Regions from separate parts of the Homo sapiens genome. Here all the other regions are linked to region 3. Evidence: promoter capture Hi-C in 16 types of primary human blood cells and fetal thymus (Javierre and others, 2016). All regions are on one chromosome and are shown on one strand. The core of a region is centred on a gene start or on the middle of the fragment in contact, and the rest is flanking DNA. Distances in the headings are between cores, read along the strand shown.

What was found. The method cuts DNA at HindIII sites, captures the fragments that hold promoters and counts their contacts. A CHiCAGO score of 5 or more calls a contact.
Region 1: a contact is called between a fragment that was not itself captured here and the fragment with the promoter of TSPYL5 in region 3, in 1 of 17 cell types (naive B cells). The highest score is 5.3, in naive B cells.
Region 2: the fragment with the promoter of SDC2 here is called in contact with the fragment with the promoter of TSPYL5 in region 3 in 2 of 17 cell types (neutrophils and M0 macrophages); the score reaches 7.0 in neutrophils.
Region 4: a contact is called between the fragment with the promoter of RPL30 here and the fragment with the promoter of TSPYL5 in region 3, in 1 of 17 cell types (fetal thymus). The highest score is 5.7, in fetal thymus.

Annotation. Positions count from the first base shown.
Region 1 is chr8:96,641,027-96,643,851 of GRCh38, forward strand. No RefSeq gene overlaps it. Among named protein-coding and RNA genes, the nearest start is that of CPQ, 2.8 kb to the right of the region's middle. The HindIII fragment of the contact is 1,849 bases long and covers 522-2,370 here.
Region 2 is chr8:96,492,134-96,495,177 of GRCh38, forward strand. SDC2 (syndecan 2) reads left to right here and starts at 1,680. Exons shown (of 5, transcript NM_002998.4): 1 at 1,680-2,198. The coding sequence starts at 2,139. The HindIII fragment of the contact is 13,490 bases long and covers 1-3,044 here.
Region 3 is chr8:97,276,331-97,279,430 of GRCh38, forward strand. TSPYL5 (TSPY like 5) reads right to left here and starts at 1,598. Exons shown (of 1, transcript NM_033512.3): 1 at 1-1,598. The coding sequence starts at 1,514. The coding sequence ends at 261. All of the region lies in intron 2 of LOC101927066 (a long non-coding RNA gene), which reads right to left. RefSeq lists an enhancer at 635-1,136. The HindIII fragment of the contact is 4,352 bases long and covers 1-2,915 here.
Region 4 is chr8:98,043,746-98,046,820 of GRCh38, forward strand. RPL30 (ribosomal protein L30) reads right to left here and starts at 1,800. Exons shown (of 5, transcript NM_000989.4): 1 at 1,763-1,800; 2 at 1,602-1,654; 3 at 1,198-1,343. The coding sequence starts at 1,622. RefSeq lists enhancers at 1,732-1,881, 1,948-2,884, 2,052-2,111, 2,132-2,181. The HindIII fragment of the contact is 12,210 bases long and covers 1-2,309 here.

The DNA of each region.
Region 1 (2,825 bases), core at 196-2,695, 640 kb before region 3:
ATATTCCTTTCTCACCTATTCTTGTTATCTGGCTATCAGCTCCAGTATTGTTTTATTATGTTTCTTAGCTTCTTTGCATTGGGTTACAACATGCTTCTTTAGCTCAGGAAAGTTCGTTGTTACCCACCTTCTGAAGCATACTTCTGTCAGTTCAGCCATCTCAGCCTCAGTCCAGTTCTGTGCCCTTGCTGGGGAGGGGTTGTGGTCATTTGCAGGAGAAAACGCACTCTGGCTTTTTGGGTTTTCAGCATTTTTGCGTTGATTCTTTCTCATCTTTGTGGGCTTATCTACCTTTAATCTTTGAGGTTGTTGACTTTGAATGAGGTTTTTGTGGGGTCTTTTTTGTTGATGGTGTTGTTGTTGTTTTGTTTGTTTTTCTCTTAACAGTCAGGCCACTTGACTGCTGCAGTTTGCTGGAGATCCGCTCCAGACCCCAGTTGCCTCACTTTTTCCTGTATCTGGAGGTATCACTAGTGAAGGCCACAAAACAGCAAAGATGGCAGCCAGCTTCTTCCTCTGGAAGCTTCATCTTGGGTGGTTTCTGATCTGTTGCCAGCCCTCATACACCTGCAGCAGGTGGTTAGAGACCCCCATTGGGAGGTTTCACCCAGTCAGGAGGAACGGGATTAGGGACCCACCCAAAGAAGTAGTCTGGCTGCTTTTTGTAGAGCAGGTGTGCTGTACTGGGAGTGGGGGTGGGTGGGGCCCTCATAGTCTGGACCACCTGTATTCTCCACAGCTGGTAGGCTGGATCAGCTGAGTCCACTGAACCATAAAGATGGTGGTTGTCCCTCTCCAAGGCAACCTGTCCCAGGGAGATATCAGAGCTCTCTCCATAGCGCCCTGGCTGGAGTGACTGAAGCTCCTGCAGGGAGGACCCACCCATGAGGAGGAATGGATTGGGGTCCCACTTAAAGAAGCAGTCTGGCTGCAATTTGGCAAGGCAGCTGTGCTACATTGTGGGGGACCCTTCCTTGTATGGTCCATCTGTATTATCCACAGCTGGCAGGCTTGAATGGCTGAGTCTACTGAACTGCAGAGATGATGGCCTCCCCTCCCTCCAGGAGCTCTGTCCCAGGGAGAGATCAGAGCTCTGTTCATAAAACAGTTGCTGGAGGGGCTTAAGGAGGTCCTCTCTAGCGAGGAGGAATGACTTGGGGTCCCGCTTACAGAAGCAGTCTGGCTGCTTTTTGGTAGGGCAGGTGTGCTGCATTGTAGCAGAGGGAACCCTTCCTAGTTTAGACCGTCTGTATTCTCCACATCCAGGAGGCTGCAGCAGCTGAGTCGGCTGAATCACAGAGACGGCAGCTGCCCCACCTGCTGGGAACTCAAACCTGTCTCAGGCAGACTCCTATCCACTGCCATTGGCTGGCTGGGATTCCAAGCTGGTGGGTCTTAACTTGTGGGGTGTCATGTAAGTGGGGCCTGAAGAATGGTATTGCTTGGCTCCCTGGATTCAGCCCCCTTCCTACAGATGGATTTCCTGCCTTGCTGATGATTGTGGCCAGAGTATGTAAAACTTCTGGGCCTCTTTGTATGTGCCTGAGTGGCTGCTCTGTCAAGACAACACACAGCTCTGTGTATCAGACTCAAGGCCCTGGTGGTGTGGAGTCATGAGGGGGTCTCTTGATCCACAGGTTGCAAAGATTCATGGGAGAAGCATGGTTTCCTGGGTTGCACAATCACTCACCACTTCCCTTGGCTGAGGGTGGAGGTTCCTTTGGCTCTGTGCTGCTCCGAGGTGGGCTCCCCACCCTGCCCAACTTTTCTTCATTCTCCATGGGCCGGTGGTTTGCCTAGTCAGTCCCAATGAGAGAACCTGGATATTTCAGTTGAAGGTACTGAATTCACTTGCCCCTTCTCATTCCTCCCTGAGTGCTGCGGGCAGGGGCTTCTAATTGGCCATTATGGATTGATCTCCCTGCAGTGAAGTGTTCTAAGTAGGAAGAACACATGGTATTGTGGAAAATCAACATAGCATGGTGGCTCAGAAATAGATTCTGGAGCCAGGCAGGTTGCTTGGTTTGGAATTCTGGTCCTGCAACTTACTGCAACCTCTCTATGCCTTAGTTTCCTCACAGTTTAAAGAGGGATAAAATAATATCTATAGGTCTATTTGCGAGGTTTTAAAATTCTTGGAATAGTACCTGGCTCATTATACATGCTATAGAAATGCTTATTCAATTAAATAAATAAAAGCATCTTTGGTAAGATAACTCTGAACATTGTATGGTTTAGTAGAGGATGCTGACAAGAATAAATAATTAAAACATATCATGAAGTAAGCATAAAAGATAGTGGTAATGCAAAGATGCGAATGAGCTCTGCTTCCTGTGATTAGTGTGAGCAGACAAATTCACTGTACTCAGAAGCTTAAAGCCTAGCGTGGGAAGCTGACATGAATGAAAACCAACGGGAAAAAATGTTAGAGTAGAGGTGTAAGCAAGAGTGATTAATTTCAACTTGAAAGCAAATGGGGGAGGTTTCACAGAGAGGGGCCCAGCATGTTGGTTGATTGCTTGGGCTCCAGAATCAGGCCAGCTCAGTTTAATGCTGACTTTGTACCTCACTGGTTTTGTGACTTGACCTCTCTAATCCTCCATCTCCTTATCTGTACAGTGGGGGGAAATAATAATGATAATAATAGGTAGCTCATAGGACAAATAAGAATTCACAGTTAATGCATCAAAAATCTTAGCACAAGGCACTCAATAAATGTGAAGCTTTTATTGTTATTACGAGTTGAAACTTGAGTGGGAAAGAACTTCGTTCACATTAAACATGAGAAAAGGCCCAGAAGTTGAAAAGCATTTGACATAATTAAA
Region 2 (3,044 bases), core at 430-2,929, 780 kb before region 3:
TAAGTGGAGCCCACATTGGCACAGATGCCAGCTACAGTGTCTGTGGAATCAGAAGCATCATCTGATGTTACAACTTCTGGCCTATTGCTCTTTTTCTTCTTTCTCCTTTGCCTACTCTTCTATTTCTCCATATTACCTTTTTGTTGGCCAATGCCTTAGACTTGCTCATGAGCATTTGTAGGTTTGGTAGCTGGCACACAAAACCAAAGGAATAAGTGTCTCCAAGTTTGAGTTGTAATTCTCCAGTTAAATTTCTTTCTTTGAGATTTATTACAGTAATAGGTTACTAAGACATTTAATTCTCACTGAGGGTATGACTGTATTTTATTCTAATACTGAGTTGAAAAATTACCATGGCCTCATATCTATATATCTACATTGGTGTATTTTAAAGGCTCACAACTCTTATACGGTATAAATTGAGCTTTAGAGCAAAATTTATTCAAGATAATATTTATCATGTGTCTTTATGTACCAGGAATGAGAATACAATGGTGAACAGACAGAAAAGTCTCTGGTTTCCTGTAGTGGGCATTCCAGGAGCAGAATGGCGTCATAATTCATTTACTCTATAAGTCAGAGAGAAAAATGATGGCACGAACTGCAAGGGATTTGTGTGTAAAATTTGTGACAGTAAGAAAAAGAAACTGGAAGGGAATACGCATTTGCCATGTTCTATAATATGCCACAGACATTGTAACAAAATATTTCATGTCAGCTACTTCCATTTAGGAAATACATGTTCATTATTTTCTTCAAACTAAGAATTACTTTATCCCTCTTTTCTTTGAAGTTATCTTAAATCTGTTATTATTCAGGGTCTCTATCCAACTTCTCATCAAATTACCCTATTTGTAGCTTCCAAACGTTAACACCTATCTGCTAAAATGGAGCCTATAAAAAGCCTTAGTGGCATAAACTGTGTGTGAGGGAGAAATGGTATTTAAGCCCTTAATGAAGTTAGGAGCTTTCAAACTGTTGCACTTTGGGTTTACAGGATCCTTCCTCCATGTCCCTTTTTTGGGGGTGCGGAAGGATTTGGGAGAATGGGAAACACTCTCACTATATATTTATTACATTAATTATCTTCTCTTTTAAAATGCAATTTTCATGAACTGGCGATTTATGAACACTTCACATTGCTTGAAAGCATCTTACACTTTTTTTTTCCCTCAACTCACAAAGCAGTTTCTTTCTACTGGTCGAATTCTCAAGGCAGAAAAGCTACATACGTCTCTCGTTTCTTCACTAATTGTTCTCTAGAAAAGGGAAAGTGAAGAAGGGAAAGAGAAAAGACAACGGGGAAGAAAAGAGCATAGAGGAGAGAGGAAAAGTGGGGAGAGAAAGGAAGAAAAGGACTGAGAAAACGCAGGAGCCCTGGCTTGCCGGTGAGCAGAGCCGGCGCAGCCACAGCGCGGAGCCGCGGCGCCCACTGGTCCTCGGAGCTGCCAATCGGCGTGTAATCCTGTAGGAATTTCTCCCGGGTTTATCTGGGAGTCACACTGCCGCCTCCTCTCCCCAGTCGCCCAGGGGAGCCCGGAGAAGCAGGCTCAGGAGGGAGGGAGCCAGAGGAAAAGAAGAGGAGGAGAAGGAGGAGGACCCGGGGAGGGAGGCGCGGCGCGGGAGGAGGAGGGGCGCAGCCGCGGAGCCAGTGGCCCCGCTTGGACGCGCTGCTCTCCAGATACCCCCGGAGCTCCAGCCGCGCGGATCGCGCGCTCCCGCCGCTCTGCCCCTAAACTTCTGCCGTAGCTCCCTTTCAAGCCAGCGAATTTATTCCTTAAAACCAGAAACTGAACCTCGGCACGGGAAAGGAGTCCGCGGAGGAGCAAAACCACAGCAGAGCAAGAAGAGCTTCAGAGAGCAGCCTTCCCGGAGCACCAACTCCGTGTCGGGAGTGCAGAAACCAACAAGTGAGAGGGCGCCGCGTTCCCGGGGCGCAGCTGCGGGCGGCGGGAGCAGGCGCAGGAGGAGGAAGCGAGCGCCCCCGAGCCCCGAGCCCGAGTCCCCGAGCCTGAGCCGCAATCGCTGCGGTACTCTGCTCCGGATTCGTGTGCGCGGGCTGCGCCGAGCGCTGGGCAGGAGGCTTCGTTTTGCCCTGGTTGCAAGCAGCGGCTGGGAGCAGCCGGTCCCTGGGGAATATGCGGCGCGCGTGGATCCTGCTCACCTTGGGCTTGGTGGCCTGCGTGTCGGCGGAGTCGGTGAGTGGGCCAGGCGGAGGATGCGCGCGCCGTTTAGGGTGTTTGAAGCTACGAGAGGAGCCCGCAGGGAATAGGGGAGCGCCACCTGGGGAACCCCCAGTCCCCAAGTATACACCGGAGATCCGCTGGGACAAATGCGCTCGTCCGGTCACCCTTTCCCCCTCTTCCCTTCCTCAGAAAAGCGCTGCTCGCTGGCGTTACCCCGCGGTCCGCGGGAATGGGGGCACCGAGAATTGCGGTTTGGTCTAGCCGCAGAGGCCCCTGAAGTCACTCCCAACTTCTTCGCCCTCGGCGGGTCTTGCTGCGTGGTCTGGGAAGGACGGAGGGGAAAGGGTGGCAGGAGGGGGGAGCCTGGGTCGGGCCCGCGAGGGAACGGCTCCACTCCGCGCGCTCCTCGAGACCAGGGATGACCTGGAAACTTCGGGGTCCCTTCCTCCGCACACCATCCCCCCCGCGCCAGCTTTCCTGTTTGACTGCATGCAAGTTCTGGGGAGATGGGGGCCAGATTTAAGAGACCCGCGAGTGTCCAGAGAGAAAAGTTTGCAAAAGTTCTTTTGTTTGATGCTCCCTGCGGCTAGGGCGAGGTAACCGACACTACGTGGAATCGCAGTAGGCGATCCCTCAAGGGGATACTGGGGGAGGCACGGAACGCGTCCGAAAATGCTGGGACGCCGGCCACTGGATTCCCAGTCCTGCGGCGACCCCCTCCTCGTTGAGGGGTGGAGGTTGCACCGCGGGGCGTCAGGGACGGGAGGACATTTTCATAGGAGTTACACGGGAGTGCCGCAAGCAGGGCGAGGCGGGGTACGTGTGACACGGCGCTCGGCTTCGGGTCGCCTGGCCGCT
Region 3 (3,100 bases), core at 348-2,847:
GATAACAGGGAGCACACATCTAAAGTATGTGTGCTTAACATATGAACAGTCCGGGTGCGATCACATAACATGTGACACTAACGTAGAAAAGCAAGAGGCTATGGGAGGCAAAAGAACATGATCATAAATGCCATATTCTTGTAACTAAAGTCCAAAGGGTCTATAGTACACAGAGGCCAACATGAAGAGAAGGCAGAGAGCCAAATATGTAGTCAACCAGGAGCAGCCCAGCAGGAGGTAGCAGGGAGACTTGTGCAGGATCAGTTGGATTGGCTCACCCCAGGCTGAGTAGTCTCCATTGGCTGCTTTCCTGGACCTTGCCTGCCTTCTTTTTCCTTTCCTTTCTCTACACGAGCCCCTTCACTCAAAAGGTAGAACTGCAAGGGATTGGGCCACAATTCTTCGTTGATTATCTCCACAATCTTGTCAGACTCAATGGAGCTGTGGTTTGAAAACCACCCAAAGAAACTACGGTTGTTTTCTGGGTTTCCCTGGCTTAGGGACTGGAGATCATGCCCTGGGAGCCACTGGATTGGAGTAGAACGAGACACCACCTGGCCAGAAGGACCACACCCATATTCCTTGATGAGCACCTTATTTTGGAAATACGGGTTGCGATCGAAGTAGAACTTGATTTTGTAGCCCAATCTGGCAAGGCCGAGCTCTTCCACTTCCAAGCTGTTTAAGTAGCTCAGTACCTCTTTCTCTTGGCTATTCAGAAAGGATGCTAGCTGGGGATGGTTCTGAAATGCTTGCCCCCAGAAGCCCGGGATATTTTGGATGAGGTGGTTCCTGCGCTCCAAGTGCTGCAGTCGCAACTGCCCAAACTTCCTGGAGAGCCGAAGGTAGGCCCTGTCCGCCTGGGCGTTCATGTTCTCCAGCTTCAGCTGCACGTTCTCCAGCGTATCCATGCTGCCTTCCGTCGCTGGGGGCCCCGACCCTGCATCCCTCTCTTCCTTCTTTTCCTCCCCAGCTGACACCGAGGTATTCTCCCCTGCCGCCCCTTTCTTCTGCCTCCCACCAGCTATGACCTGAGGCCCCCTCCCCGCGGTGCTACAGGTTTCTGGGGCCTTCTTCCCGGCAGGGCCACGCCGGTTTCCAACGCGGGGGGCATTTTTCGGCCTTCCCACGGTTCCCGCTGTTCCCACGAAGACAGTGTCTGCGGCCAGGCGCTCCGAGAGAGATGCGGCCTTCCCCGGGCCGGGCCTGGCCGCGGCCTGCCCGTGGTCCCCCGCAGCTCGGGCCCGCAGCGCGAGGCCACAGTCCAGGGGGAGCCGGCAGGCGGCCTCCTCCCCGAGCCGGAGGAGCTGCGCGGACGCAGCGGCTTCCAGGCCACCCCACCCCGCGCCAGCCTGCACCTGTGCCGCCTGGGTGTCTTCCCCGAGACTCTGGTACTGTGAAGGGTCCGGGTCGCGCGGGGCGTCGTCCGGAGCAGGGCGGACTCGGGCTTTGGCGCGGCCTTTGCCCCGGTTTTTGGCGCGGGAGGACTTTCGACCCCGACTTCGGCCGCTCATGGTGGCGGCGGAGGCAGCTTCAAAGACACGCTGTGACCCTGCGGCTCCTGACGCCAGCTCTCGGTCGGGACCGAGCGGGTCTCTCCACGGCAACCGCCGACGTCACGAACGTACAACTGTACCGTCGCGAGAGGACGTGATGCGCCCGGTGATTGGCGCCGCCGCTGCGGCTGCGCAGGAGACGACCCCCGCGGGCGCTCCCACCCCCATCTCGCGCGGACTCGCTTTAGGTCTCGGCGAGTTTCTCTGATATGCGCTCGCGGGGGTGCTGCCATTTCATCTCTTCCGCGCGGGCTCATCGTGCTCTCAGGGTCTCGTTGAACAAGGCAACGCTAAGAGCCATCACCACCTGTCCCCCATCACCTGTTTTCTAAACTAAACATCTTCAGCTCCTCCAGTTATCTCTTGTGGCATCTGTCATGAAGAAAGTGCTCGGGCGTGTGTGTCTCTCTTTGAACACCTTTGCTGAGGGATTTGCTCTGGTACCTTAACTCCAGAGAACGTAAAGGTGGATGCTATAATGCCGGGCGTCAAAGCGATTTGGTACGCAGTAAGATGATAGTAGAAATTATAAAAATAATGGCAACTAGTATTTTGTATCATTTGTGCCAGGCACTTTACTAGGTGCTTTAAATGCATTATCTCAATTTACAAAGGAGGTGTTGATATCATTCCCATTTTCGAGATAAGAAAACTGCATCTCAGAGACACCCGGGCACATTCCCCAGGTTACACAGTAAGGGATGGAAGCACAATTCAAACTCAAGCCCATGGGACTCCGTATCCTATGCCTTATATTTGGAAATGGCAAGTCCTTCCAGACTTGTTCCACTGTCAATTACTGGGCTGGCTCTTAAGAAATCAGCCTTGCTCCTTAACAAACAGGCTTCCGTGGACCACCTGACCACCTCTTCTGCCTGGGAACATCACCCGAGTCCCCCAGCTGCCTCAGTTTACAGATCTGGACTATCACTCTAGGTATAGGACCAGAAGTGAAGACCTGTATTAGAGCTCCTGTAATTGGAGTAAGACAAGAATGTGGTGAGAGGTGAAATTATTATTCAGGGAGCAGATTGAGGTTCAGAAGCAGAGCCTCCACGTGGCACTGCAGAAGCCCTAGAAACTTCTTACACTGTGCATGGAAACAGCCGGACAACCTCCCCCACAGTCCCGGAGGCAGCCCTGGACCACGCTCTTACTAGTGAGGTAATAGGACCATGAACAGTGAGGGGACCTGTGGCTAATGTAAAAATATAAAGAAAAACCTTTTGAGGTGGTCTTTTCAGGCTCAAAGGGAACAAAAAGGCCCTTGTAACCAGCTAGTGGAGAGATAAGCCCAAAAGCCCCGGGACCTCATTACTCAAAGTGTGGTTGTGGACCAGCAGCCTGATATCACCTGAAAGCTTGTTAAAGATGCAGAATCTCAGGCCTTTCCCCAGACCTACTAAGTCAGAATTTGAATTTTAACAAGATCCTGGGTGATTTGTATACACCCCTAAGTTTAAGGAAACAATTTAAAGAGGAATTATTTTTATACAGATGGCCCTATTTTAAGCCGGCCTAATACAAGTGATTCCTCATTTTCT
Region 4 (3,075 bases), core at 550-3,049, 770 kb after region 3:
GAGTCCTATACTATCTTGCCACTCAATTATGTGAATCCACATACCAGCAATAGTGCTACAATGTATTAGTTAAAAAAACACCTCAAGCCGGGCACGGTAGCTCACACCTGTAATCTCAGCAGTTTGGGAGGCCGAGGTGGGTGGATCACCTAAGGTCAGGAGTCCGAGACCAGCCTGGCCAGCATGGCGAAACCCCATCTCTACTAAAAATACAAAAATTAGCCAGGCATGGTGGCAGGTGCCTGTAATCCCATCTACTCGGGAGGGTGAGGCAGAATTGCTTGAACCTGGGAGGCAGAGGTTGCAGTGAGCTTAGATTGTGCCATTGCACTCCAGCCGGGGTGACAAGAGCAAAACTCTGTCTTAAAAAAAATAAAATAATAAATGGCACCTCGGGCCCCATCCCAGATCCAATGAAATCAGAACTTGCATTTTAACATCACCCATGTGACTCCTTTGCACAGTCATGTTTCAGAAGCACTACTATAGAAGACAGGCTTTAAAGAAAGTTTCAAAGAATGGTTAGGGAAAAGCCGAACCCATGGGACAAGACAGAAAGGGCCCTCCAGGCTTTGACGGTAACTACAGACACCCTATATAAAATGCTGTAAGCAGCTTATGCATCACCACAGAAAATTTGCTCACATAGCTTATACTCTGCAAGGTCCAAGTTTGTTTGGCTTATTTACAACACCCCCTAAGTTCAATTTCAAAACAGTGAGTCAAGCATAAATCTTGACTCAGAACTGATTTAGCGGGCTAAACTAGGTGATTCTATGATAGCCTGCAACTCCATAGCCCAGCCTCAACTTTTCTTACCTAGTTTTTTGACACTAAAACAAGTTCACACAATGAAGCATCATTAAAGCACCTCAAAGCTAAAAGAACCAAAAAAGCAGGACACAAAATACATGGAAAAAACAGTAATGTGTCTGTGTTTCCATTAAACCTCGATGTTCTGTTTTCACTCCTGCCACACACACACATTTCTCCTCCAAAAATAAGCTCACAGAAGGGGAGCACACGATTTGGGGGTGGGTCGGGGAGACGGGAATGAAGGGCCAAACACCACAATCGCTACCGTAATTATCCTGCAAGTGTTCGAGTTCATGGTACTCAGATTACAAGTTTACACTCCTGTATATTCGTTCACGATGAATTCGCGGTAGGCGAAGCCCGTTCAGTCTCTTCGATTACCTCAAAGCTGGGCAGTTGTTAGCGAGAATGACCAATTTCGCTTTGCCTTGTCTGATCATCTTCAGAGTCTGCTTGTACCCCAGGACGTACTTCCCACTTTTCATAACGAGTTGGAGCCTAGAGTTGATCGACTCCAGCGACTTTTTCTACAAAGCAAACATTAAATACGGACCTAAGGGCCTCGCCTGCAACCGCCTCAAAACCGGACCCAGCTTTTTGAAGCCGAGCCCCTTAAACTTCCGAAGTCGAGGACCCCAAGTCATTGAGAGGGCCACTGGGATTCCTTCTGGGGCCCTCCAAATGCCAGCAGGCATGCTGTCACCCCCGTGGGCTCACATCTGCCCGCCCTGGCCAAGACATCTCTCCACGTGAATCGTCTTCCGGGCCTGGCCCGCCTCACTCACCGTCTTCTTTGCGGCCACCATCTTCCTGCCTTAGGAGCGGGACGGCCCCCAACCTAGAAGAGACAGAGAACAGGACAGGAATTTTAGGATCCGGAGTTACAAATGGCAACCCGCAAAGCTCCCCGCGCTGCCTAAACCTCGGTCGGTAGGAGCCCACTCACCAACAGCAGCCGCTAAGATGGCCGGGGAACGAGAAAGGAAAGACTTCCCACAATGCAAAGCTCTTCACGGCAGAGCCGGAACTGCGGGACCGGAAGCGGAAACAGATCGCAAGCAGAAGGGGCGGAGCAAAAGCGGAGGGCAGCTGCCGGTTGCTATTGGTACCGCTAGCTAGAATGGCTGCGGGGGCCGTACGCGGCTGCTCATACCTTTAATCCCAGCACTTTCGGAGGTTGAGGCGGGAAGATCTGTTGCGTCCAGCTCAAGGCCAGCCTGGACAACATAGACCACCCCTGTCTCTACAAAAAAATAAAAAAGAAATAAAAAAGAAATTAGCCGGGCGTGGTGGCGCGCTCCAGTAGTCCTAGCTACTCCCAGCTACGCCGGAGGCTGAGGCGGAGAGGTCGCTTGAGCTCGGTAGGTCGAGGCTGCAGTGAGCCATGATCGCGCCACTGCACTCAGCCTGGGCGACAGAGTGAGACTCTGTCTCAAAGAAGGAAAAAAAAGAATGACGGCGGGGGTGTTCTTTTCCCCCTCTGCGGGCCTTTAAGCTTCGCGGCGTTGTGTTGCTGTTCTGCTGCGAGCTGCGGTCTAACTAATCGAGGCGCTTAGAACCCGGAGGGAGTTCGAAAAGCCGACTGAAGGTGAGGTGGGAGGGTAGATGAGAAGAGGCTGCGGCGGCTGCGACCACGGTCTCAATGCCGCTGAATTCATCTTTGTCCTGAGGCGCGGCTCTTGGAGAGCCTTGTGGGTGACTCCGATGCGCCGCAGCACCCGCATTTACTCTCCGCTTGGTAGAAGCAGCTGTGTCCTCACCCCTGCGGTCACCCAAGTTACCTGTCCCCTGGAGAACGGTGGCGCCCTGCTCGAGTTTCCCAAAACTCGCCTTTTGTGACTGTGTTAGCGTGAACTTGTGAGCCGAGTTTGCACTGAGAGCGCGATAAACAGGTCTAATTTTTTAAAAGTATTTTTGCTGTTAACGTTGGATCTTGGTATAAATGTCCAGAGACAGACCACTGAAGATATTAGGCGCTGAAAATCCCCACCTAATCAATCAGACCAGTGGATAAGCTATATGAGGGAAACCTCTTCCCCTCCTTAATTAAGCCTCACCAAAAAACGCGTGCTGTACCAGGAATCATTTACATATATTTATTTAATACTCACAAAAGTCCCATGAGATAGTAACCTTTTTATTGTCCATTTTACATATCTAGGCCTATTGTCAGAGCTAGGACCAGAGCCCAGGTAACTTAGGTCTCTTCACAATTAAAGTTGATTCAGGCCGAATGCGGTGACTCACGCCTGTAATCCA